Regions from separate parts of the Homo sapiens genome. Here regions 1, 2, 3, 4, 5 and 7 are each linked to region 6. The links are contacts of gene promoters, found by promoter capture Hi-C in blood cells and fetal thymus (Javierre and others, 2016). All regions are on one chromosome and are shown on one strand. Each heading gives the region's core, a stretch centred on a gene start or on the middle of the fragment in contact. The rest is flanking DNA. Distances are from core to core; before and after follow the strand shown.

Region 1 (3,110 bases), core at 77-2,576, 1.8 Mb before region 6:
TTGTCATACCAGGAAATGAGCTTGACAAAGTGGTCGTTGAGGGCAGTGCCAGCCCCAGCATTGAAGGTGGAAGAGTGGGTGTCACTGTTGAAGTCGGAGGAGACCACCTGGTGCCCAGTGTAGCCCAGGATGCCTTTGAGGGGGCCCTCTGATGCCTGCTTCACCACCTTCTTGATGTCATCATATTTGGCAGGTTTTTCCAGATGGTAGGTGAGGTCCACCACTGACACGTTGGCAGTGGGGACACGGAGGGCCATGCCAGTGAGCTTACCATTCAGCTCAGGGATGACCTTCCTCACAGCCTTGGCAGCCCAGTAGTGGCAGGGATGATGTTCTGGAGAGCCCTGTGGCTGTCACGCCACAGTTTCCTGGAGGGGCCATTCACAGTCTTCTGGGTGGCAGTGATGGCGTGGACTGTGGTCATGAGTCCTTCCACGATACCAAAGTTGTCAGTGATGACTTTGGCCAGGGGCGCTAGGCAGTTGGTGGTTCAGGTGGCATTGCTGATGATCTTGAGGCTGTTGTCATACTTCTCATGGTTCACACCCATCGTGAACATGGGGGGATCAGCAGAGGGGGCAGAGATGATGACCCTTTTGGCTCCCCACTGCAAGTGAGCCCCAGCATTCTCCATGGTGGTGAAGATGCCAGTGGACTCCATGACATACTCAGTGCCAGCATCACCCCACTTGATTTTGGAGGGATCTGGCTCCTGGAAGATAGTGATGGGATTTCCATTGATGACAAGCTTCCCGTTCTCAGCCTTGACGGTGCCATGGAATTTACCATGGGTGGGATCATACTGGAACATGTAGACCATGTAGCTGAGGTCAATGAATGGGTCATTGATGGCGATAATATCTACTTTACCAGAATTACAAGCAGCCCTGATGACCAGGCGCCCAATACAACCAAATCCATTGACTCCAACCTTCACTTTCCCCATGGTGTCTCAGGGATGTGGTTGGCAATGCAAGAGAAGATGCAGCTGTCTGTCAAACAGGAGGAGCAGAGAGCCCTGCCTAAATTATTTCATGCACTCTCATAGCGTTGGTTACCATCTGCATTCATAACTCTCAGATATATGTGTTCAACCTAGATCTTCTTTCCAGCTCATGTATCTCATAGCTTGTGTGGTTCTCTTTAATGTAACTCAGGCATCTTGAAAATCAACATGTTAAAAACCTATCTCCCCCCCTCCCACAATCTGTTCTTCTTTCATATTTCCCTATTTCCACACATGCCAAAAGTGATCAATGACATTTTATAATATTCTCCCTTCCAACACACATCCAATTCATGACCACCTCCTATTAATTCTGCTTGCAAAATATATCTTGATTTTTTCCACTTCCCTCAGCTCTACTGCATATAATTTAACCGAAAATTCCATCATTTCTCTCCCACCTTAAACACTTCAAACTTCAATCACCTCATTTTTTTTTTTTTTTTTTTGAGACAGTCTTGCTCTGTCACCCAGACTGGAGTGCAGTGGCATGATCTTGGCTCACTGCGACCTCCGCCTCCCAGGTTCAAGTGATTCTCCTGTCTCAGCCTCTTGAGTAGCTGGGATTACAGGCACTCACCACCATGCCCGGCTAATTTTTGTATTTTTAGTAGAGATGGGGTTTCACCATGTTGGTCAGGCTGGTCTCGAACTCTTGACTTCGTAATTCGCCTGCCTTGGCCTCCCAAAGTGCTGGGATTATAGGCGTGAGTAACTGTGCCTGGCCTCAATCACCCCTTAACTGATCTCTCTGCATCCATTTATTTCCTCCTACAATTTATTCTCACACAGTACTTTGAGTATCTTTTAAAATTGCATGTCAGATGATGGCATTTCTCATCTTAAAATCTCTTAATATTTCTAGTACTCTCAGGAAGCTCCAAAGCCTCCACATCTAGAAGCTTAGAACATTGTAAATCTTTCTTCTTGCCTAATGAAAGTGTGATCTAGAATGCCTATCATTCCTTTACCACTTCTGCTTTTAGTATACAGGGAAGCTAATCAGGACCTCCTTCTGTTTCTCCAAAGAGCCAAGCTTCCCTTGACTCAGGGCTTTTGCACATAACTTTCTCCCTCTTGGAATACTCTTTCACAACCTCTGACTAGAGCTAATACCCACTTTACCTTAAATGTATGACCTAGGAAAACTCTGACTCCAATAACAAGGTTAGATCCCCGTTACACACATGTTCACGGTGTCTTGTACTTTTTTGTCATAGTATTTGTATCATTTAGCATTAGATATGATTACATATTACAGAAAAACCCAAAAGAAAAGTGCCTAAAGCAAAATAGAAGCTTTTTATTTTTCACTTCCTTAAAGGATGTCAGGATGTGGACAGACCAAAGTTAGTAGAGATAAAAGAGCCAGTAAAAGGTAAGCACGTAATAACAGACCTTTAAGATACATAAAGCAATATTTGACAGACTAAGAAAAAAATTAGACAAATTCAAGATTATTGTTATAGAATTTAATACCCCTATTATATAATTAATATAATAAATAGGCAAAGATAAATTATAATATAGAAGAGATGTATTACACTGTAAATCATTTGACCTGGTGGAGGCCAAATTCATGGGCATGAAACAATCACAAAGATCTATAATTTTATGGGCTGTTAAATAACTCTTAATAAATTTCAAATAGGAAATAATATAGAACTTGACCACAAGGGGATTAAATGGGAAATCAATAACAATGAAATATCTATAAAAAATTTTAAGGTCAAGCACAGTTGTTCACACCTGTAATCCCAACGTTTTGGGAGGCAGAGGCAGGAGGATCAATTGAGGCTGGAAGTTTGAGATCAGCCTGGGCACCTAGTGAGGCCCTGTCTCAACAACAGCAACAGAAAGTATCCAAACTAATTTATTGAGAGTTTTTAGCATGAAGGGCTGTTGAGTTTTGTCAAAGGCCTTTTCTGCATCTATTGAGATAATCATGTGGTTTTTGTCTTTGGTTCTGTTTATATATTGGATTACGTTTATTGACATGCGTATGTTGAACCAGCCTTGCATCCCAGGGATGAAGCCCACTTGATCATGGTGCATAAGCTTTTTGATGTGCTGCTGGATTCGGTTTGCCAGTATTTTATTGAGG
Region 2 (3,307 bases), core at 265-2,764, 1.9 Mb before region 6:
TGTTTCATGCTATGCTAGGAGCTATGAAGAAGGGGGAATAAGAGCTGCTTGGTTTCATTAACTTTAGTGTGATACACCTTCTGAATCCTGTGAATAAAGAGTCTGGGTAAACTAAGGTCAATACATAAAAATAAAACAGATTACAGATGTTCCCACAGTGAAAATGATCACTGTGCACACTGGTGTTTACTTTAATGGACACGTGAATGGGAATGGTGTCAGCACCACACTCTGAGTATCATCAACTGACTCATGAGAAATCCAGAACACTGAAAGGAGGTAGAGAGGCTGTGTTACCTCTTCAACTTTGAGCCCCATCTTGCTGAATCAGAGAGTCAACTGAATAGGATTAATATTAAGACCAAACAAGGACGGTTTCAAGTTGTTTGACTAGATATTTCCTCCTTTCTCTCTTATCATATGTTGTTTTTCCTAATTATTTAACTCTTAGGCCTTCCAATTCTATCCCTCCTTGTTGATTTATACCATCCATACTCTTTTGGGTAATTAAGATTTCCTTCTTTAGTCATCACCCCAGCATATAAATTTCATTATCTTTAACTTATCTTACTTATCTCAGTGTAAGAAACTCATCTAAATACACCTATCCACTTCCTTTTGCAGACACGATCATAACATTTGTAATTTTTCTCGGTTGTAGCTGAATAAGTTACTTAGAAGATGATTTTACATGTTCTTTTTATTTCTTTACTTATCCTCTGTCTACATTTCTGACATGTGCACATGCTCCAATATCTAAGGTTAAATCTTCACTGGTTGGGCAGGTGAGTAGTTGATATACGACTAACAGGCAATTCTCCTTCAGGAAACTCAAGATTGTGTAAGTATGCCTGATTCATCCCTGCTGCTGCAACTGAAACATGTAATAAAAGAGCAACAACAAAGAGAGGCGATGATGACAGCTTAGCTGCAGCATCTTGTTCTCTAGCTCAATAAGCCAACAGGGAAACTATGACCCTGGTGAAACAAGTAGCTCTCAGAATCATTCCAGTCATTCCAAAGAGTGATGTGATTTTTCTTCACATGTTCACAATGAAGATACTATGTTGTTTAATTGATGCTCTTTTTCAAAGTGTGTTCTCTTGTTTCTATATACCTCCCTTATAAGGCTCCATACTGTCATTCAACTTAATTTCTGTTCAACAGAGATTTCTTAAACACCTCCTACATGCTAAGCACTGTGCTAGGAGCTATAAATATCATGAGGTGGATACAGACATGGCTGTCTCCTGGTACATTCTTTTTCTATCATTCAATCACATTCACCTATTTTTAAATATGTTGATAATGAGTCAGGATATAAGAATATAAGGCTAAAAGCACGGGCTCTGATCAGAGAGACTTGGTGATGAGCCTTAAGCTTATCACTATTATGGTGGTCATAGGCTTACTTGCATGTACTACTGAGCCTTTGCTTTCCCATTTGTGAAATAGAGGTCACATTAGTACCTACTCCCCAGAATAGTTTTGAGGATTAAGTGAGATAAGTGCTCCAGTGTCTTGAATTTAGCAGTGTTAAAAAAGTAGAAGTTCTTATTAATTAATAATATGATTTTCCTGAGAATGTAAACACAGACTCACTAGTTCTCTGCCAGAAGGTGAGGCACCTCCTTGAGCCTCCTAAGAAAAGCTTTTGACAAAGGTTGAAACTGATGTGTAATTGAATTCATAACAAGCTTGTTGAATGGTCAACCAGGAAATATTAAGGTGAAGATTTCTCATGTCAAGTGAAATTAAGAGAATATGAACTAGTGCTGTGACCCCCAAGCTCCCTTTCTTTAAAAGACATTTTCTCTGATTTATTCTGAATAAAACAAGTCTGAGAGAGGCTGTGAAGTAATGGTTCTGTGGTAATTAGGTCATCTTCAGAAAGTGCTATATAAAATATTATGCATTATATATTCACAATGCACTTCATTAGCATGTTAAAAATTCAGAGAATACTAGCAGAAAAGAAGCCGGTTTTAATTTCTTATCATTTCCCAAATTCATTTGTCTGTAGGATTCTTTGTTTGTTGAATAGCATCAAGTAGCATCTCAAGGAACACCCTTTGGGAAATGCTGCTGAGAGAAGCTAAGAACTTGCTTCACGATCGTCAAGCACTGAAAAGGATTCATACTTGGGAAACTGGCAAACTGTTTTTCTGACCCTGACCCTTGCCAGTAGTATAATCATGGGCAAGTCACTTGATTTCTTCACATGTAAAACAAAATGATAATATATCCTCCATGGACAGCCATAGAGAGAAGATTCATTACAAAATGCATTTACGGTAGGAACAGAAGTTGACAATAAAAGTTAATATTGTCACAATGTGCATTCTAATTTACACGAAACTCATTGCAAGGAAGCAGATCTTAAAAGTAGTCTTGATACTGGAAGACTGGGAAGAGTTTGGGTGTGCTCAGGACAGAGCTATTGACTAAAGTGTGAGGTATGTGTAGAGAAAGATGAGGAATCAAGGCTGGGAAGACGAGAAAAGGAGGAAGATAATTTGGTGCTGGGGTGCTGAGGACACTAATAGAAATGGTGAAAAACAAATGTGAGTAGGGGTGGCTGAGGGGTAAAGCCAGACTCTTTTCTGACATGCTAGTTTGAAGAGCAAACAAACCATCCAGTTGGCAATTTCATTTATCTAGATCTTAGGAAAGAGTTCAGAGCTTGTGAAACAGGAAACATTAGCATATTATTGTGAAATTTTTGAGAGAAGAATCATTTCTTATTCAGCTCCGTATCTTCTGTGTTCAACCTGGTGTCTGGTGCGTAGTAGAAGGTCTTAAAAGTTTGACAAATGAATTAATCAATGAACAAATTAATTAACTGCAAGTCTAACAAATCAAAGTAGATTCCAAGCCATATAACCGAAGTGGAATAAAACACCAGTTAAATGAATGAAATGATAGCTGAACCCCTGGAATTGGGAAGATCCACAATTAAAGGTGCATGGAGAAAAAGAAGAGGACCAAGGACAAAACAAAGAGGTACAACTTATTTGATGGCTGGCAGGAGCTAGAGAAAACAGAGTCAGAGACTGAAGAAGAAATGAGTGTTTTGCAAAAGGATCGGAAAGAAAGGAGAAGTTGGGTGTCAATGATATAAAATGATTCTGGGAGATCAAGTGGAATGAGACTTATCTTCCGTAAATATCACTTCTTTTAGCTATGCTTTAAGAAGAGCAGCATGACTACAGGGTCCAAAGCCCTCATGCCCGAGATGTGGATGATACAGCCTGTGTAGAAGGAAGACCTCCCACCCGTACCCCACACATACACACATTGTTGGAAT
Region 3 (3,242 bases), core at 562-3,061, 2.0 Mb before region 6:
TAAATCTTGGTGAGAGGCAGCATGGCGGTGTTGAGATCGAAGCCCAAAGAGGTGTAGCAGAATTTGAACAACATGGTTTGTGAGGCAGTAGCCTCCATTTCTCTTCTATCAACTCTTGATTTGAAAGAAGTGTTGTTGGGAGTGGCAAGATGGAGGATGAAAATCTCAACCCAACAGCTGTATGTAGTGAGACTTTAGTCTAGCTTCCCTTATCTGGGAGTGGCTTCTTTACTTCCTTACTGTACGTTCCCGTATCTTTCTCCACTATAATGCTGGCTATATAATGTTTGCTGTCTTGTGGAAGAGAACAGATTATTCGAAGGTAATGATGAAGTGTAAAAGAATGGGATGAGTGAAAGAGAAATGAAGAACAGTGATGCAGTGATGATTCATTCACTCATTTCCTACTACAACAAATATACATATATATATTTGATACCTATTACATATGTATATATCAGGTGTCTACTAGCAACATGGAGTCATGTTCCGGGGATTGGAGATGCATCAGTGAACAAAACAAAATTCCTGCTATTTGAGACCGACCTTGAGGAAAGACAGAAAATACATAAGGGTGCTTTGTTGTAGGAGTTGAGTTGGAGGGATCTGGGAGATGATCAAGGAAAAAGATGTGAGCACAGGGGGCAGTAACATACAACATGCTTTACTGAATGGCTCTTGGATGGGGTTGCATGAAAGAGGATGTCTCTCCTAGTGAGACCATCCAGAGGTTTAGGGCAAGGGGGCCACTGTTTAGAAGGGGAGAAGAGCAAACAGAAAATCAAGAGAGAGGGGGATTAGAAAGGGGGCTTAGAGGATCTAAGTGATGTCACTCAGCAGTACAGCAGAGAGTCTGGGTCAGAGAGCTCAGAAGGGCCACAGTGTTCAGGGCCTTATAAGTACAAGGCCCCATCTGATCAATGAGCAACAGCTGTTGGGTGAGGCCTCATAGGGTACGTAAAGTAGGCAGGCTCCAGATGGCTAAAAATCTGCTTGTTTGTGCTATTTTTTAAATAACTGGATGTGTAAAAATTTGCATTTGGCATCAGCAGGCTTTTGAGCTGACAATTTAACCTGCAGTGAGGAAATAAACAAGGTAGGGTTCAATACACAGAATCAGTCTTTGGTTCATGAACATAACCTAGGTGCTAAGGAGAGGGAGCAGGGTAGGAAGGCAAAGTAGGGCAGGAGAGGGGCTCTGCTTTTGATGCATTGTCTGAAAAGGCCTTCGTTGTAAGAGGACATCTGAGCAGAGACATGCATGAAGAAAGAGATTGAATGCCCTGCATGATACCTGGGAGAAAAAAGTTTCTGGTGCTTTTGTTTTGTTCTGAGGAGCCACTACAAGGCCAATGAGATAAGAGTGGAGTAAGCCAGGTAGACTGTGGTGGGGATGAGGCTATGTTCTGTAGGGCCATGCAGCTGCATACAATAAGGCCTCCATTTTGAGTGATCGGGGCACTGTTGGAAAGAGGAGAGACAGATTACACTTTGGTTTTAAAGGTGCTCCAGAATGCCACAAGAACAGATGTTACCCATGGAAGGAACAGTGGTGGCATGGACAGAGTGGAAAGTGGCGAAGGTGATGAGGAGTCAAACTCTGAAAGCTTTTCAGGAATAGAGCTCACAGAATATGTGAGGAATTGAATGTGAGGTGGGAGAAGAAGGGTGAAGGAGGCAAGGATAACCAGGATGTTTGGCCCACGAGGCCTTTACTGGCTACATTTAAGTGATCATGATATAATGTGGTGGCTATTTGTCCCCACCCAAATCTAATATTGAATTGTAATCCCCAGTGTTGGTGATAGGGCCCGGTGGGAAGTGCTTGGATCATGGGGGAGGATCCCTCATGAATGGCTTGGGCCATCCCCTTGGTGGTAAGTGAACTCCCACTCTGAGTTCATAGGAGATCTGGTGGTTTACAAGTATGTGGCACCTCTTTCCACGTGCTCCCTGTCTTGCTCCTGCCGCTGCCATGTGAGACACCTTCTTCCCTTTCACCTCCCACCATGATTGTAAGCTTCCTGAGGCCTTCCCAGAAGCAGATGACAGCATCATGCCTCCTGTACAGCCTGTAGAACTGCGAGCCAATTAAAACTCCTAGAAATTACCCAGTCTCAGGTATTTCTTTAGATCAGTACAAGAATGGCCTAACACAGATAGGTAATATAGTGCCAGAAGTATGGATTTTATACATTTAGACCTCCAGGGAGGTGTCTGTGGAGGCAGAATCATGTGAACAAATGCACAGACTGTGGAGCAGGTGTGGGAGTTGGAGGCTGGCTCCTCCACTTCATAGCTGTGTGACCTTGGGCACCTTCCTTGACTTCCTATATCTGTAAAATGGAGGAGCAGTAATTTGTGGAGATATGAAGGTGAACAAATTTGTAATGAATGTATAAAGTGCTTAGTACAGTGCCTGGCACATGCTAAGTACCCAGTAGATGTACCTGTACTTATTACGATTGGTGTTCAAGGAGCCTCAGAGATAGGAATGGTTATTGTCAAGGGACAGATGGAGGGACAATTTCAAGTGAAGTGAATGAGCTCATTTTGGTTTTCAAGTACCCCTAAGAAAACATTCTTCTTTGGCAGGACTGGCTACATAAGTTGTGGGGCCCACTGCAAAAAAAAAAAAAAATGCAGAGAGCCTCCTGCTAAAAAAATCTTTCAAAGTAACACCCACAGAGCGTTACACCAAGCACAGGACCATTCAATGCCAACGCCCTGTTCATCAGAGAGTGCTTCAACTCTATCTTCCTCTAAGTAGGTCTCCACTAGGGGCCTCTAGGGGCCTATGACCACCAGTTCTAGACCAGAGTGGAGTCAGTGGCACAATTCTGTCGTGCACTAGCTTCACAGCCTACTGTGTCATCCCACTCTGACTCAGAGGCCTTCTGTTGTGGCTCTTATGACCACTTGAAAAAGTGGCTTCCTTCCCTCTATGATCTCAAATAAAATGAAATCCTTCTAAATATATGTTCTAAGCTAATAGAAAGACAAAAAGAAGTAAATGAAAGCATCATTCCCTTGAGAAGATAATCTGAGGTGTACACACAGGATAGACAGTTATATCTTCCTTACCATTTGGATAGGACCTGATACATTTGAAAATGCTTCCATAAGCAGGAGTCCTGGGAGATACATGATCTTTTAGAGAACACAGAAGTTCAAAATGTTGACATGGTTTTTTTTAAATCGTTGCATTAGTGACATTACCAGAATTGGACACCTCGTCCCCT
Region 4 (3,145 bases), core at 216-2,715, 2.0 Mb before region 6:
AATAGCTTTACATTTGAGCTCTGATAAATAATAAAAAAGTACAAGTAAGAAAGACAGATTTTAAAGTCTATAGCAAATGAATTGCTTTTTTAAAAGAAAATGGGATATGTGTACTATTTACATATAAATAATTCACACGACATTCAGGTACATATGCATCTGTGTATCATTTTAAATGACAGGCACCAATTTAATGGAGAAGCTAGGGCTCATTAGTTCCCTGAGTAGGATTGATTCTTCATAACTGGAATGGTGCGTACAGCTCTTAGATAATTTGTAATGAATTGAATTTTCCCTCAGCATACTTAATTAGTGACTCTTTCTTTTGCTACTTAAAAGGATATAGACATTTAAAAAGATAAAAGTTTGGAAATTCTGCTAAAATGCTGGAAAGAAATTAAGCCTTCATGTGCATGGGCTCTATGGAAAAAAAAGCATGAGAAAAAAAGAAAATTTCATTTTGGGAGATGGAGATGGTAAGGGTTTTATTTCAAGAGCATCATATGTTTTTAGCCCATATGCAGAGTTATTTGGCAAATTCTACGTGATTTATGTCATCCTGTACCTTCTAGGTGCCTCTTGGCCACATACCTTGGATGACTGACTCTTCAGCTCCCGTAATGGTAAACCACAGGAATACTGGAGGACATTTCTTTCCTTGGGGTTTGCACACAGAGAGGTTTGCTTTTTACTACAGTAACTTATAGATAAGTTCAGTCCAAACAGAAATGCTGGCCCATGTACTGGGAAGTAGACAAACATAGATCTATAAATAAGTTCCTACTATGTTCAAAAATGTGTTGTTCTCATTGACCCAAGACCTGAAATGGTCATTTCTGGCAACCTGTGAAAATAGATGCTGTAGTAATTTTGGTTTCTGTCTCAGTTTTTATTAGAATTAGTGATTATTTCAAAACCCCACTATGGCATCGATTGGATATTTAGGAAAAATCTAGTAATTTTAAATTACATTCTCCTTTGAGGTGAATTCAAACTCTGCCCTGTCTTCTATGACCAACAGCACCTTATGTATTAAACTATGCCAAATATTAAAAATAATAGCTTACTGCTCAGAAAATGTAGAGGAAGCCAGAAAAAGTAGAGATAATTCAGTGGGCTGATAGTGTGATTGAATAGTTAAAAATTCAGTGTCTATTGCCCTTCAGAGAATAATGAATCCAATTACATATGCTCACATCAGATGAAGATTAAATGCTGTGGCCAAGGATGAGGAGTTTGAGGGCTGTTCATTGGTGGGTAACAGTATAGGGGACCTGTCTTTCCACATTAAAATGATTTGGATTAATAGAAAGCAAGTCTACCAGCCTGGAATAGAATAGGAATTCACCATCTCTGAAGTCAAGATATTTAAGAAAAGAAATGTATGACCTGAGCTGAGATGACATTCGCCTTGTCTCTGAATTTTCCAGGATACCATTTCAAGCAAAAAATATAGTCTGAATATATGTAATATATAAGGTTAGTACACAACTTATAATTAGCTTAAAATAGCAACAAAAATTGCACAGCCCTTACTTACTAGCCCTTACTTCTGAGAAAGGAATTCCACTTTCTTTCAGTAGTTTAATTGAAGAAGATTTTTTCATGCCTCCTTTTAAGATGTTTTCTCTGTCAGTCTGTCTTTTCAGATTTACAAGACCTAAAAAGAGGATCTATAATTACTGTTAATAGAACTGTTTAATTATTAAGTGATGTGAGATTCCAACAAACATAAGTTCCCAAAACAATGAAACACAAAAAGCCAATAAAGATAAATTAATGTGAATAAAGTAAAACAAAGATGAGCTATAAGACAGAACAGATTGACCTTGTAGACACATTCTCAGGCTCCTGCTATGGGATGGTGCCACGTTAAATGTCCCACTACACCAAGGCTCCTTACCTACCTCTGCAACATCAGCCACAGCATTTCACATTGTTAACAGCAAATGACGCAGGGGAATATTCGGCATGAGTTTACCAAACAGTGAACATCAGAGTTTTGGATCAGGCCCAGGGGTGTGCTGCTAATGATAGTGGCAGGAGGCAGACAAATTCCTAGGCAGATAGGGGCGTGTCCCTGGTGAAACCTCGCCTCCAAGCCAAAGACAGCCTGAAACCTGAAAACCAACCTGCCAGTTTCGGGTAAAGTCCCTGAATGGAGTGCTTTTTCCAGGCTTCCCATGGACCAGTCAGCAGGCACTCGCCTATCCCATAAAAAACCTGTACTCAGCCACACATTGGGACTACCCGCCTTTGAGTAGGGGCTACCCACTTCACATCCCTTCTCTACTGACAGCTGTTCTGTTGCTCAGTAAAACTCTTCCCCTCCTTGCTCACTGTGGTTGTCTGCATAACCTCATTCTTCTTGGATGCGAGACAAGAACCCGGGACCTGCTGAACAGTGGGGCAGAAAGGGGCTGTAACATTGGTAGCCCTCTTGCCCTCTGCTGGTGCTGGGCAGCTGCCCCATGCAAGAGCAAGTGACGGCAGGGCCAGGCCAGAAGCCACAGGCTGGAAGAGGGCGGTGGGAACAAACATACTGTAACACCCTCTTTGGGGTTCTGAGGTTGCTGCTGTCTTCAAAGTTTTCAGGCACCACCGCATTCCCCTCATCCAGAAGCCAGAGCCCAAGGTGGAACCAGGTCACAGCATGCATGGCCCAACTGAAGGCTGAGCTCAGATCCTGCTGTGAGCACAGGATCTGAACCACTAATGTGAGCCAAGCACATCCTGCTGGGCCAAGTGGGCAGAGCAAGGCCACTGGGCATGAGTGAAACTTGAGCAGAGGCCCTGCCAGCCACGGAGGTCTCTGGCTGGTGAAGTGGCCCTGAAAAAATCCTATGTCAGTAGCAAGCACTCCAAAAAAGTCTTGATTTGTAGTGTTTGTCAGTTTTCATGGTATAAAGACTCCCACAATTAACAAATTCAAGATATGCAAGCAACGTGACAGAACACAGTTTGGGAAATGATAATAATTGGCTCTTGTGAGTTGGCTTCAGTGCACCCCTGACAGGCTATTTCTAAGCCTTGAAGCTTTTATCTGATTAACATGTATGAAAAGTTTTATAACCATTGGCCATTTTTCCAATCTTGTGCTGACCAAGGCATAGAAATAGAACTGTAGAGATGATCTGTTTTTAAT
Region 5 (3,063 bases), core at 403-2,902, 1.8 Mb before region 6:
CGGACCCTTAAAGAGTTAATAAATAGTTTGTAATGAAAATATTTTGAGACTGATTTTTAAAGCTTATGCCAAGAGGGACTGATTTAATGTGTTCAGCAATCATACAATTTTATCTTTATTAAAAGGTTACGTAATAATTATGTAACTATGTGTTTGTCAAAATTCAAAAACTGTTCACTAAAAGGAGTCAATTTTACTATTTGCGTATTATTCCTTTATAAAAAATGAGGGGGCCGGGTGCAGTGGCTCACGCCTGTAATCCCAGCACTTTGGGAGGCCGAGGCAGGCGAATCACTTGAGGTCAGGAGTTCAAGACCAGCCTGGCCAACATGGTGAAACCCTGTCTCTACTAAAAATACAAAAAAAATTTAGCTGGGCGTGGTGGTGTGCGCCTGTAATCCCAGCTACTCGGGAGGCTGAGGCAGGAGAATTGCTTGAATCCGGGAGGTGGAGGTTGGAGTGAACTGGAATCACGCACTGCACTCCAGCCTGGGTGACAGAGAGAGAGAGAGAGACTCCTTCTCAAAAAAAAAAAATAGAGTCCACCTGAAATGGGGTTTCCCTTGAATATCTTCCACCAATAAGTTTTTATTCTTAATCTGATTTTTATCTTAAGATCACATAGCATGGTGGAATAGATGGTAAGTCATATACTCCAAAGTCATATACTACTCCTTTGCAGCAAAGTGATTTTGGCCAGATCACTTGGTCCCTGATCTCTCAATGCTCAACTAGCAGAGGAAGAGACAGACATGAGAATTCAACTGCTATGCAGTGTGATGAGTGTTATGTCAGAGGAGTGTCTTATGAACAGTGGTAGGACAGAAAAGGGGAGAAGGCAGGGTATAAACACAGACATTTGAACTTTTTTTCAAAGAAGAGGAATTTGACAAGCAGACAGGGAGAAAAGTCTTTTTTCACGGGGCAGAATTAGAAAGACCTACAAAAGTTCCCTTAGTACAATGACAAGATATAAGCAAATGAGAATATCTGAATACCCTGAGAGAACTGAATGTATAAGCAGCCCAGAAGCAAGAAATAAAACAATCTGGAAACTAAGCAGACATGATGAAGAGGATATATACAAAGGAAGAGGGCAGGAAATGACTGTGATGATCCCCTAGGAGGTCTTACAAACTACACTGAGGATGCTGGAATTTATCATGTAGATAATGAAGAGATATTTGATTGTTTTTGTTTGTTTGTTTGTTTGTTTGTTTTGGGACTGGGTCTGGCTCTGTTGCCCAGACTAGAATGCAGTGGCATGATCTCAGCTCACTGCAGCCTCCACCTCCAGGGCGTAAGCGATTTTCGTGCCTCAGCCACCCAAGTAGCTTGGACTACAGGTGCATGCCACAACACCCAGCTAATTTTTGTGTTTTTTGTAGAGACGAGGATTCGCCATGTTGCTCAGGCTGGCCCTGAACCCCTGAGCTCAAGCAACCCACCTACCTCAGCCTCCCAAAGTGCTGGGATTACAGTCATGAGCCACCACACCCAGCCAGTTTTGGCTTTCAAAAGATCATGGTAGAGGCAGTGGGGTGTGGACTGAGGGGAAGGGGATATGTCAAGAGGCAGGAAAACCAACTGCATCAGTGGTTCTCAATACTTGTCTACCACTAGACTACCCATGTAAGAATCATGTGCTTGCTAAAATTATAGATTCCCAGGTCCTACTGAATCAAAATCTCTGCGGGTGGGACTGGACACTATGATCTGAGCTCCCCCAGGTGATTCTGACAGGCAGGCAGACTTGGAGACCACTAGGACATAAGAGATGATGGAAACCTGGGTTAGGGAGCTGCACTGGCAATGAACAGGATAGGTAGATACGAAGGTTTCGTGGGTAAAATCTACAGACTCCACGACTGTTGTGGATGTGAGAGAAGAGAGTCAAAGAAAAGTTCAGGATTACTCCCAGATTTCTGGTCTATCTGGCAACACAGACAGTGAAGTCATGATCCATAACAGAGTAAAGGAAGAGGAGCAGATCTGGGAGAAACTGATCAGGTGAATGTTGAACATCTCGCATCTGAGCTACTTTTGGGACAGCTAGGTGGAGGCGTCCAGTAGCCTCTGGAGCTGCAGAGGAACTGCCAGGGCTGTGGACACACAGAGGGGTCACTGACAATGACAATCACACCAGAGTTTGAGGTCACAAGGGAAGGAGCATGTACAGTGAGAGAATAACATGAAAAAGGAATGACTCTGAGGACAGTTGAAGATGAGTGGGTGAAATGGCAGCAAATAAGCCAGAGAGGCAGGAAAAGAGAAAACCATGTCACAAAGACCGAGAAATTTCCAAAAGGAAAGGGTGCAGAACAGAATCTATAGCTGGAAAACCAACTGTTCTTCCTTTTTCTTTTTTTAATGAGGAAATAGTTACTTCATAGGGTTAAGATGTGATAACTAAATGAACCAAAGTATGCGAAGGTTCCTAGCACACATGGATACCACGACGTCATGCATTCCCTTCTGCTGCAGCCTATTCTCTCCCAAATTTACATCTTCACAAAGTATGTCTCATGTCAGAGATAATCTGAGCCCCTCCCCTTAAAAGTCAAGCCCCTCAATGTCTTCCAGGATTTTTCTTCTCAACCTAGAGAGTTCTATATTCTGAATATGGACTCTCAAATCAGACTTACCAGCATTAGACTCTTCACTTACCAGCTGAATAAACCCAAGAAGTTACTTAGTGCCCCTGGCCTTATAGATGATAGTAGGGCTGTTGTGAGGAATAGAACAACATGTATACAGCATCTGACACAGTGTCAGAGTTCAATAATTTTTGGCATTTCATTATTATTGACACTGATCAACCACTAAATCCTCCTCTATCTTCAAAGAGAAAAGTTAAACCAAATTAAATAAAAATTACCATGAATAATTAAACTTAGAAGAGTTTACACTGAGAATAAAAAAACATTTTATGACATAGACTGAGAAGACATTTTATAATTCTGTATTTATTTATTCAGGAGATAAAATACATAAAAATTCTCACTCTGATTTTTAAAATTATTTAGAGAGGCTATTTTTAAAAACTCCTTTTCATGACAATAT
Region 6 (3,276 bases), core at 2-2,501:
CAGTTTACTGGTTTAAAAAATCAAAAATCAAAGAAATAACGCGCGCCCAAACTCGTGATGGCCACAGATTCATGGCATTTAACCGATGCCCCTCTGCCCGCTCCCCGTCACACCCGGCCCAGACTGGGTCAGGACCCAAGTGCATCTCGGGTGGTGTTACCTTGAGCGTGAGTGGTGTGATCTTCTCTTTGTTCACCCCCTCGGGTAAGAAGTCCAACAGGCAGTCCAGCACGACGTCCTTCACAGTCTGAAACTCCCCTTCCCCGCGCAGGTCGGCGCAGAAGATGAGGTCCAGGTCCTTGTAGCCCAGGCCGCTGTCCTGGTGCAGGACATGGCTGGCTGCCGAGCCGTTGAGGCGCACGTCGCGGACGCCAATGCGCTTCTCGGCCAGGCGCCGCCGCACCACCTTCACGATCAGGCTCGGCTGCAGCTCGAGCGTGGGGAAGTTGCCGCGCCCGTGAATCGGAATGGTCTCGCTCAGGATGCCGTCCAGCCGCTGCACTTGCTCCCAGTTCAGCACATTGCAGTGCGCCGTAGGGCTTTCGCAATAGTCCAAGCAATGCCCACCGAAGCTGCCGCCACCGCCGAAGTCGCCGCCGCCGAAGTCGCCGCCGCCGAAGTCGCCGCCGCCGAAGTCGCCGCCTAGGGGGATGTAGGGGCTGCAGGCCAGCTCGTCCTCAGACATGGCGAAGTACCCTTCACCCTCCGCCATGTAGTGCCCGCCGAGCGCCACTTGGCCCTGGTCAGTCCTAAAAAGAAAGGGAAAGGAGCGCGGTGAGGACGCGCGGCGGCGGAGAGCACGCGCGGCGGCGGAGAGCAGAGGCCCGCCAGGAAAAGAGCGCCCCCTCCCCCGATAGTTCCCTGACCCCGGGCCTCCTCGGAGACTCCCTCCCCCGGCCCTTACAGTCCCCAGCCGCGCACCGCGCCCCGCAGAGCAGCCCCGCACCAAAAGTATCTCTGATGCATCTGGAAAGCGCAAGCGAGAGTCCCGTCTGTGTCACCTGGAGGCGGCCGCCCCTTCTAGGAGCGCAGCGAGCGAGAGCGAAACCGAGAGGCGGCAACACTTCCAGGAGCTGCGAGCGCGCTCAGACAGCAAATAGCGACTTCGTCTTTCCCAGACCCCTGCCGCCTGCGCTCACCACTCCCTCCCCGCGACCCCTCCTGCGCCGCTGCCACCCCAGCTGCGGTGGTCCCGAACTGGCGGCTCTTGCTGCCACACACGCTCGTGTCTCTGGAGCTTTAGCAGTTGTGCGGGGAAAATGTCTTCAGTACTTTTTTTATACCGGGCTTCTCTGCGCTTCCGGGGCCCAGAGCGGCACGTTCGCCACACCCTCCTCATCTGCATAGGGCGCCGCCCCCTCTGCCCTCCCCCGCCCGCAGGGCACGCAGCTGACTAGCCCAGCAGTTAGTGCGGGACGACTGCCGGTGAGCGTGAGGTCCTGGGCTGTATGTGCGGATACTGTGTGCGCCCGTAGATGCGTGTATTTATACATACATTTAATTTATGTACGCCCCCTCCCACAAATCTCTTTTCATTTTCCCCAGGAGGAGACACTTTAAATGCCCCAGGAATCATAAGTGGTCATCAAAACCAGATCACGACTAAAATCCTGCAACTGCAGAAACTTCCCAAAATTCTCGCGGACTCAGCCCGTCTTTAGATCATCACGGTTGGGCTCCGGAGGTTCCTCACGACCGCTCTTTTAAACCTCGGTTTTTAGGTAGACCATTTACTCCATTGATAAACCCGATCCAAGTGTGGACTCATGAGTCCACTCTTGCACGCAAATCAGTCACGGCGCGTGAGTGGGAAGGGCTTGTTGATAACTGGGTTTCGATTCTCGAAACCTCGGGAAGCGCGCCGGGGAGCTCTGGGCGAGCCCGAGAAGGCGCGGGGGCGGCACCACGGGCCTCGGGCGTGCGCGGCTCCTGCGCACGAGTGGCTCCAAGGGGCCAGTACTTCGCGGGGGTCAGGGCGCGTCACGGAGCAGACGCGGGCGAGCAGCCAATGGCCGAGGACTGGGCGGGCCGAGTGGGCGCAGAGAGCGCGCCCGGGGAGTGCGTGCTGCCCCGGAGTCCAGGGAAAGGGCCGCTAGGTGTCCGGTGCCTTTGCTGCGAGTTCTCTGACAAAATTGGAGGCGGCGAAGCGCGTTCCTCGCGGCCCCCTAAAGTTTGGCCATTTTAAGTGCATCATAGTGTCAGTGGAATACGATTTGGTTTTCCACGAGACGTAAAAGTAGGAGTTTCAAGAATAAAATGAATTCTCTCCTCCAGCTTCGGTGACTTCGGCAGAGCTAATTCTACGCACGCTCACTCGCGCCACCACCACTCTTTGCTAGAAAGCTGTGGCCGTCTCTTCGGCAGCTCGCTGCCTCCATCAACTAACCCGGAGCAGCTTTCCCAGCGCCTAGACGCTGCCGGGGGCTGAGGTGGGGCAGAGGGGAGAATGCCAGGGTCACAGAATACTCCCCAAACCCTGCTCAGCCCTGCCCGCCCAGACTGGGAGGAAAAACAGCCCGCACCTCCTAACTGGGGGAGCCCCGGCCTAGTCACTCAAGCTGCGCGGCTCGGGGGTGAGGGGTAGGGTGCGGGGGTGTCACCCGTGGAGCATCCAGCTGCGTGACAACGCCGCCCCCTCCCGGTGCCCTGCCGAGCTGCGTCCCAAAATGGAGAAATCCGACTGTCTCTGTGGCAGAGGCCATCCCCTCAGCGCTGCGCCTAAGCACTGAGGTGCGCCTGGGGACTCTAGGACAACTACCCTGTCCGCATAGGGCCATCGCTTCCTTCAGAGCACACCCATGTGTTCCTCTGACCAGCCATCGGCGCATGAATCTATCTTAACCAGGCATTTTATACATATATATACATATGCATATTCTTGTGTGAGCATGTGTATAGAGAGAGCATTTAGTGACCTGTTACGTGCCAGGCAACAGGCTAAGTGCTGAAGATTTAAGAATGACATTTCACGTAATCTAGAGGGCATAGCACCTAGGTGCATAATTATGGTTCAGTTGCATATGTATTATGAGAGAAGTATATTCTGACGCAATCGCGTGGCGGGCTAACTACATAGGAAACGGAGAGACACCCGAGAAGGTGTCATTTGGACTGGATCTTGAAAGAATGGATGTTCTTTCAGTAGTCGGGGAAAGAGGAGAAGAGCGTTATCTACAAAGGGAAGCGTATGGAGTTGGAGAATGTTTGAGGAAGGATATGTACACTCCCGTGATTAATAAATGAGATTGGTAGTGCCTTGAGATAAGGTTTATGAGT
Region 7 (3,394 bases), core at 343-2,842, 1.9 Mb before region 6:
CTTCTAGTTTGTAATGGAGAATGTATATTTTTTGAAAGTTTTTTCCCCATTGGTTAAATTAGCATTACTTAAAATTTATTTCTTTTGAAAATAAATACAGGGTAGAAATTTGTGTATATTTAGAGGGTATACGTCTCTCTAAGCCCCCTCGCTTCTGATTTTTCATTGCTTTCTAGTTCCTTTTACTGAAAATACTATGTTGTCAATGGTAACAAACTTTAGTCTCTGAAACTTCCAGAACCAAGCAAAGGAATCTTAATGAATTAAAATGTCAGCCTGCGTGTATATTTTACCTACACTTTAATCAAGAACAAGTCTTTGGCAGTAGAAGAAATACTCGGCCTTCCTAAGACTTATTTACTTATAATGAATACATTTAATGAATGTGCATTCTTCTCATTGATTTCTGACCATAATACCTTTTAATTGAAAATCTCAATACACAAATTAAAACTGAATAGGCTGTAGTATTTTTTATTTTGGGAGTCAGTGTATGATTTGGGAGAGGGAATATGTATCAGCTCCAATAGAGTGTAACCTTTAACTTTCTGGTCTTTTCTCATAAGTTCATTATGGCATTTTGAGCAATGTGATCCCATATTGACCATGTTACTAAGCCCCTTCTTAGTCAGCTTGGGCTGCCATGACAAAATGTTATAGACTGGGCGATGTAAACAATAGATGTTTATTTCTCACAGTTCTGTAGACAGGGAAGTCCAGGATCAAGGTGCCAGAGGATTCAGTTCCCAGAGAGATCTCTCTCCCTGGCTTGCAGTCAGCTGCCTTCTTGCTAGCTCCTCACATGGCAAAGAGAGAGAGAAGGAACAAGCTCTTTGATATGTCTTTTTATAAGGGCACTAATTCCATTGTCTGGACTCCACCTGATAACCTCATATGAACCTAATTACCTCCCAAAGGTCTCATCTCCTAATGCCATCACACTGAGGGTTAGGGCTTCAATATACAAATGCGGAGGGGTGGAAATGTTAGCAGCATAATGCATCTGACTCCTGTGGTACCAAATTATGTTACCAGTAGTGAAGCCAGCAACCTCAATTCCTGCCTCCTCAGAAGAGAGAATTTGACCAAGGGGCTTAGGCAGAATGAGAAACCAAGGCAAGTTTTACAGCAGGAGTGAAAAATTTATTTAAAAGCTTTAGAACAGGAATGAAAGAAAGTACACTTTGAAGAGGACCAAGCAGGTGACTAGAGAGATGAAGTGCATGGTTTGACCTTTTGACTTGGGGTTTTATACACTGGCATGCTTCCAGGGTCCTGTGTTACTTCTCCTCTGATTCTTCCCTTGGGGTAGGCTGTCTGCATGTGCAGCGGCCTGTCAGCACTTGGGAGGGGCCGCATCGCAGTGTGTTTACTGAGATTGTACACCACTTGGGCCTTCCCTTACCAGTTGAGTGTTTCTAGAGGAAGGACACATACCAGTTACTCTGCCATTTTGCCTCTTAATGCATGTGCTTCAGACTACTCATCCAACTCCTGAGATTTTATTGGGAAGTTGCTGATCCTCAGTTTCAGGCTTTTTCTATCTATTGGGAGACTGCCTTTCTCTGGCACTGGCTGTGATCAATTATCACATCAGAATTGATGGGAAAAACTGAATAGATAAACCATACTCTCAAAAGACGCATTGTCAAAATATGTCAAGAAATGAATTTGATTTGGGATAAGTCATTGCTGGTTGCCCTGTTATGGATTAGAGTGGCTCTCTGAAGTAGGCTCAAATTGAGTCCCTTATGGTAGGCTACTCCAGGTGTCTGCTCCAGTGGGACCACCAACTGATGCTTTCAAAGATTTAGCAGTTGCCAAATATGTTAAGACTCTGGGCACTATACTGACTTCTGTTCATGAGTTTGCTTCTAGCAGGACCACTCATCCCACAGATGTAGCCCTAGATCATTTTCAACTGGGAGACTGTGTCCTCCTGAAGACTCTGAAAAAAAAAGGACTTGAACGCTGACCTCCTGCCAAGTTGACAAGGCCATTCAAAGTGCTGTCAAATATTCACTCATCAGTTAAGCTTGCTGGAAGAAAGCCATAGGTGCATCACACTCAGGTCAAGGCAGCACAACCAGAAGAAACCAGGAAAACAAGGGGCTTGGGAGCCCTTGGAGGATCCAAAGCTACTCTTACACAAAAACAGTAAGTGAAATAAAAATGTATGTCCTACCACATTTATTTAAGAATGCATTCCAATATCAAATGGCAAATTTCAACAATGCAAAAACCGCAATTACTCTTGCACCAACCTGAAGCCTGTTTCTCCAATCACCTGTAGGGTCTGATTGATAACTTCGTACCCAGAGGTCCATGCTTCTTTCTTACTCAGCACTGCATTACACATTATGTGCAAAGAAATAATAAGAACCCACAAGCTTACAAGTGTAATTTCTATTGACCAAATGACCTCCCTAGGTTAAGCCACCTGTTGCACTTACATTAATTCCTCCTCTAAAGTAGAGACCCATATTAGTAAAATTATACAACAGGCCACCTGACTTCAACGAACTTTAGAACACCAAAGCAGAATTAATCTGGGCACTTTCAGGGACTGGTTTATAGACCTGTTCTCTGGGATTCCTAGTGGAATTCAGTTAATCCTGGAAAGCATTCTTAAATTGGGCCTTAATATTCTTCTTTTGTCATGGCGGCCTACGTACTAGTAAAACTTACTATGTATTGCATAACCAAAGGTTGCATGAGTTTGACTATCAAAGCAAGAAAGGAGATGCCCATGATCATTGTTCCTAAAAGAAACACTAAGGACTATTTCCTTAGGCGGGTCAAACTATTTTATTCTACAGTCGCCCCTCATCAACCTTGTCCAGCAAGAAATAGGCAGATGAGAGAAAAAAATCCCTTTGTCTGCAATCCCACAAGATTGTGGAATGACCTTTGACAGTGCAGAAATTGTAGTAGTGAAAGGAAGTCTAGCATGACTAGTTCCATTTTGCTCCTAACCCCACCACTGCCCCTAGCACCCTAAACAATGATATCATTTAGGTCAACTGCTTTTGATTATTTCTGCACATAGGCCAAACTAATTATGGGAGGAATTTACAGTTTACCTTTAAAGCAAGGATAATAGTCCCTTCCCAAAACAAACCCCTGAGGAGATAAGGATGGTGTACACACAAGGAACCATGTTATGTTAAAGATTTATAGGAGCATTGTGACCTGACCAAGGACAAGGCAGTTTCACAACCCTCCCTGAGATCCTTGTTGCCACCCAGATGTCTGTGATCATTGATCACCTCTTGATCTCAACCTCCTCCCTCTTCACCTTCCCCAACATAAACAGGGCCTAAAATTCTGTTAACTAAAGATGGTTCTTTAGGACATCAGTACACAATATTCTTGGTTTACTGGCTGTCCAAAA

Evidence for each region. The method cuts DNA at HindIII sites, captures the fragments that hold promoters and counts their contacts. A CHiCAGO score of 5 or more calls a contact.
Region 1: a contact is called between a fragment that was not itself captured here and the fragment with the promoter of TENT5A in region 6, in 4 of 17 cell types (total CD4 T cells, naive CD4 T cells, naive CD8 T cells and 1 more). The highest score is 10.5, in total CD4 T cells.
Region 2: a contact is called between a fragment that was not itself captured here and the fragment with the promoter of TENT5A in region 6, in 6 of 17 cell types (naive CD4 T cells, naive B cells, total CD4 T cells and 3 more). The highest score is 9.6, in naive CD4 T cells.
Region 3: a fragment that was not itself captured here is called in contact with the fragment with the promoter of TENT5A in region 6 in 3 of 17 cell types (total B cells, naive CD4 T cells and activated CD4 T cells); the score reaches 9.9 in total B cells.
Region 4: a contact is called between a fragment that was not itself captured here and the fragment with the promoter of TENT5A in region 6, in 1 of 17 cell types (total B cells). The highest score is 7.1, in total B cells.
Region 5: a contact is called between a fragment that was not itself captured here and the fragment with the promoter of TENT5A in region 6, in 4 of 17 cell types (naive CD8 T cells, fetal thymus, total CD4 T cells and 1 more). The highest score is 9.8, in naive CD8 T cells.
Region 7: a contact is called between a fragment that was not itself captured here and the fragment with the promoter of TENT5A in region 6, in 1 of 17 cell types (naive CD4 T cells). The highest score is 5.1, in naive CD4 T cells.

Annotation. Positions count from the first base shown.
Region 1 is chr6:79,953,066-79,956,175 of GRCh38, forward strand. All of the region lies in intron 1 of LOC124901351 (a long non-coding RNA gene), which reads left to right. It also overlaps the pseudogene GAPDHP63. Among named protein-coding and RNA genes, the nearest start is that of ELOVL4, 7.1 kb to the left of the region's middle. The HindIII fragment of the contact is 1,160 bases long and covers 747-1,906 here.
Region 2 is chr6:79,872,277-79,875,583 of GRCh38, forward strand. No RefSeq gene overlaps it. Among named protein-coding and RNA genes, the nearest start is that of LINC01621, 62 kb to the left of the region's middle. The HindIII fragment of the contact is 270 bases long and covers 1,380-1,649 here.
Region 3 is chr6:79,780,154-79,783,395 of GRCh38, forward strand. LOC124901349 (a long non-coding RNA gene) reads left to right here. Exons shown (of 2, transcript XR_007059655.1): 2 at 1-2,110. Among named protein-coding and RNA genes, the nearest start is that of LINC01621, 30 kb to the right of the region's middle. The HindIII fragment of the contact is 413 bases long and covers 1,606-2,018 here.
Region 4 is chr6:79,762,888-79,766,032 of GRCh38, forward strand. No RefSeq gene overlaps it. Among named protein-coding and RNA genes, the nearest start is that of LINC01621, 48 kb to the right of the region's middle. The HindIII fragment of the contact is 3,137 bases long and covers 1-3,034 here.
Region 5 is chr6:79,932,028-79,935,090 of GRCh38, forward strand. All of the region lies in intron 1 of ELOVL4 (ELOVL fatty acid elongase 4), which reads right to left. Among named protein-coding and RNA genes, the nearest start is that of ELOVL4, 14 kb to the right of the region's middle. The HindIII fragment of the contact is 3,184 bases long and covers 61-3,063 here.
Region 6 is chr6:81,751,430-81,754,705 of GRCh38, forward strand. It overlaps TENT5A (terminal nucleotidyltransferase 5A), which reads right to left and starts at 1,252. Exons shown (of 3, transcript NM_017633.3): 1 at 1,002-1,252; 2 at 161-749. The coding sequence starts at 712. RefSeq lists enhancers at 913-1,413, 2,274-2,323 and a silencer at 1,324-1,453. The HindIII fragment of the contact is 5,877 bases long and covers 1-3,276 here.
Region 7 is chr6:79,855,842-79,859,235 of GRCh38, forward strand. No RefSeq gene overlaps it. Among named protein-coding and RNA genes, the nearest start is that of LINC01621, 45 kb to the left of the region's middle. The HindIII fragment of the contact is 881 bases long and covers 1,153-2,033 here.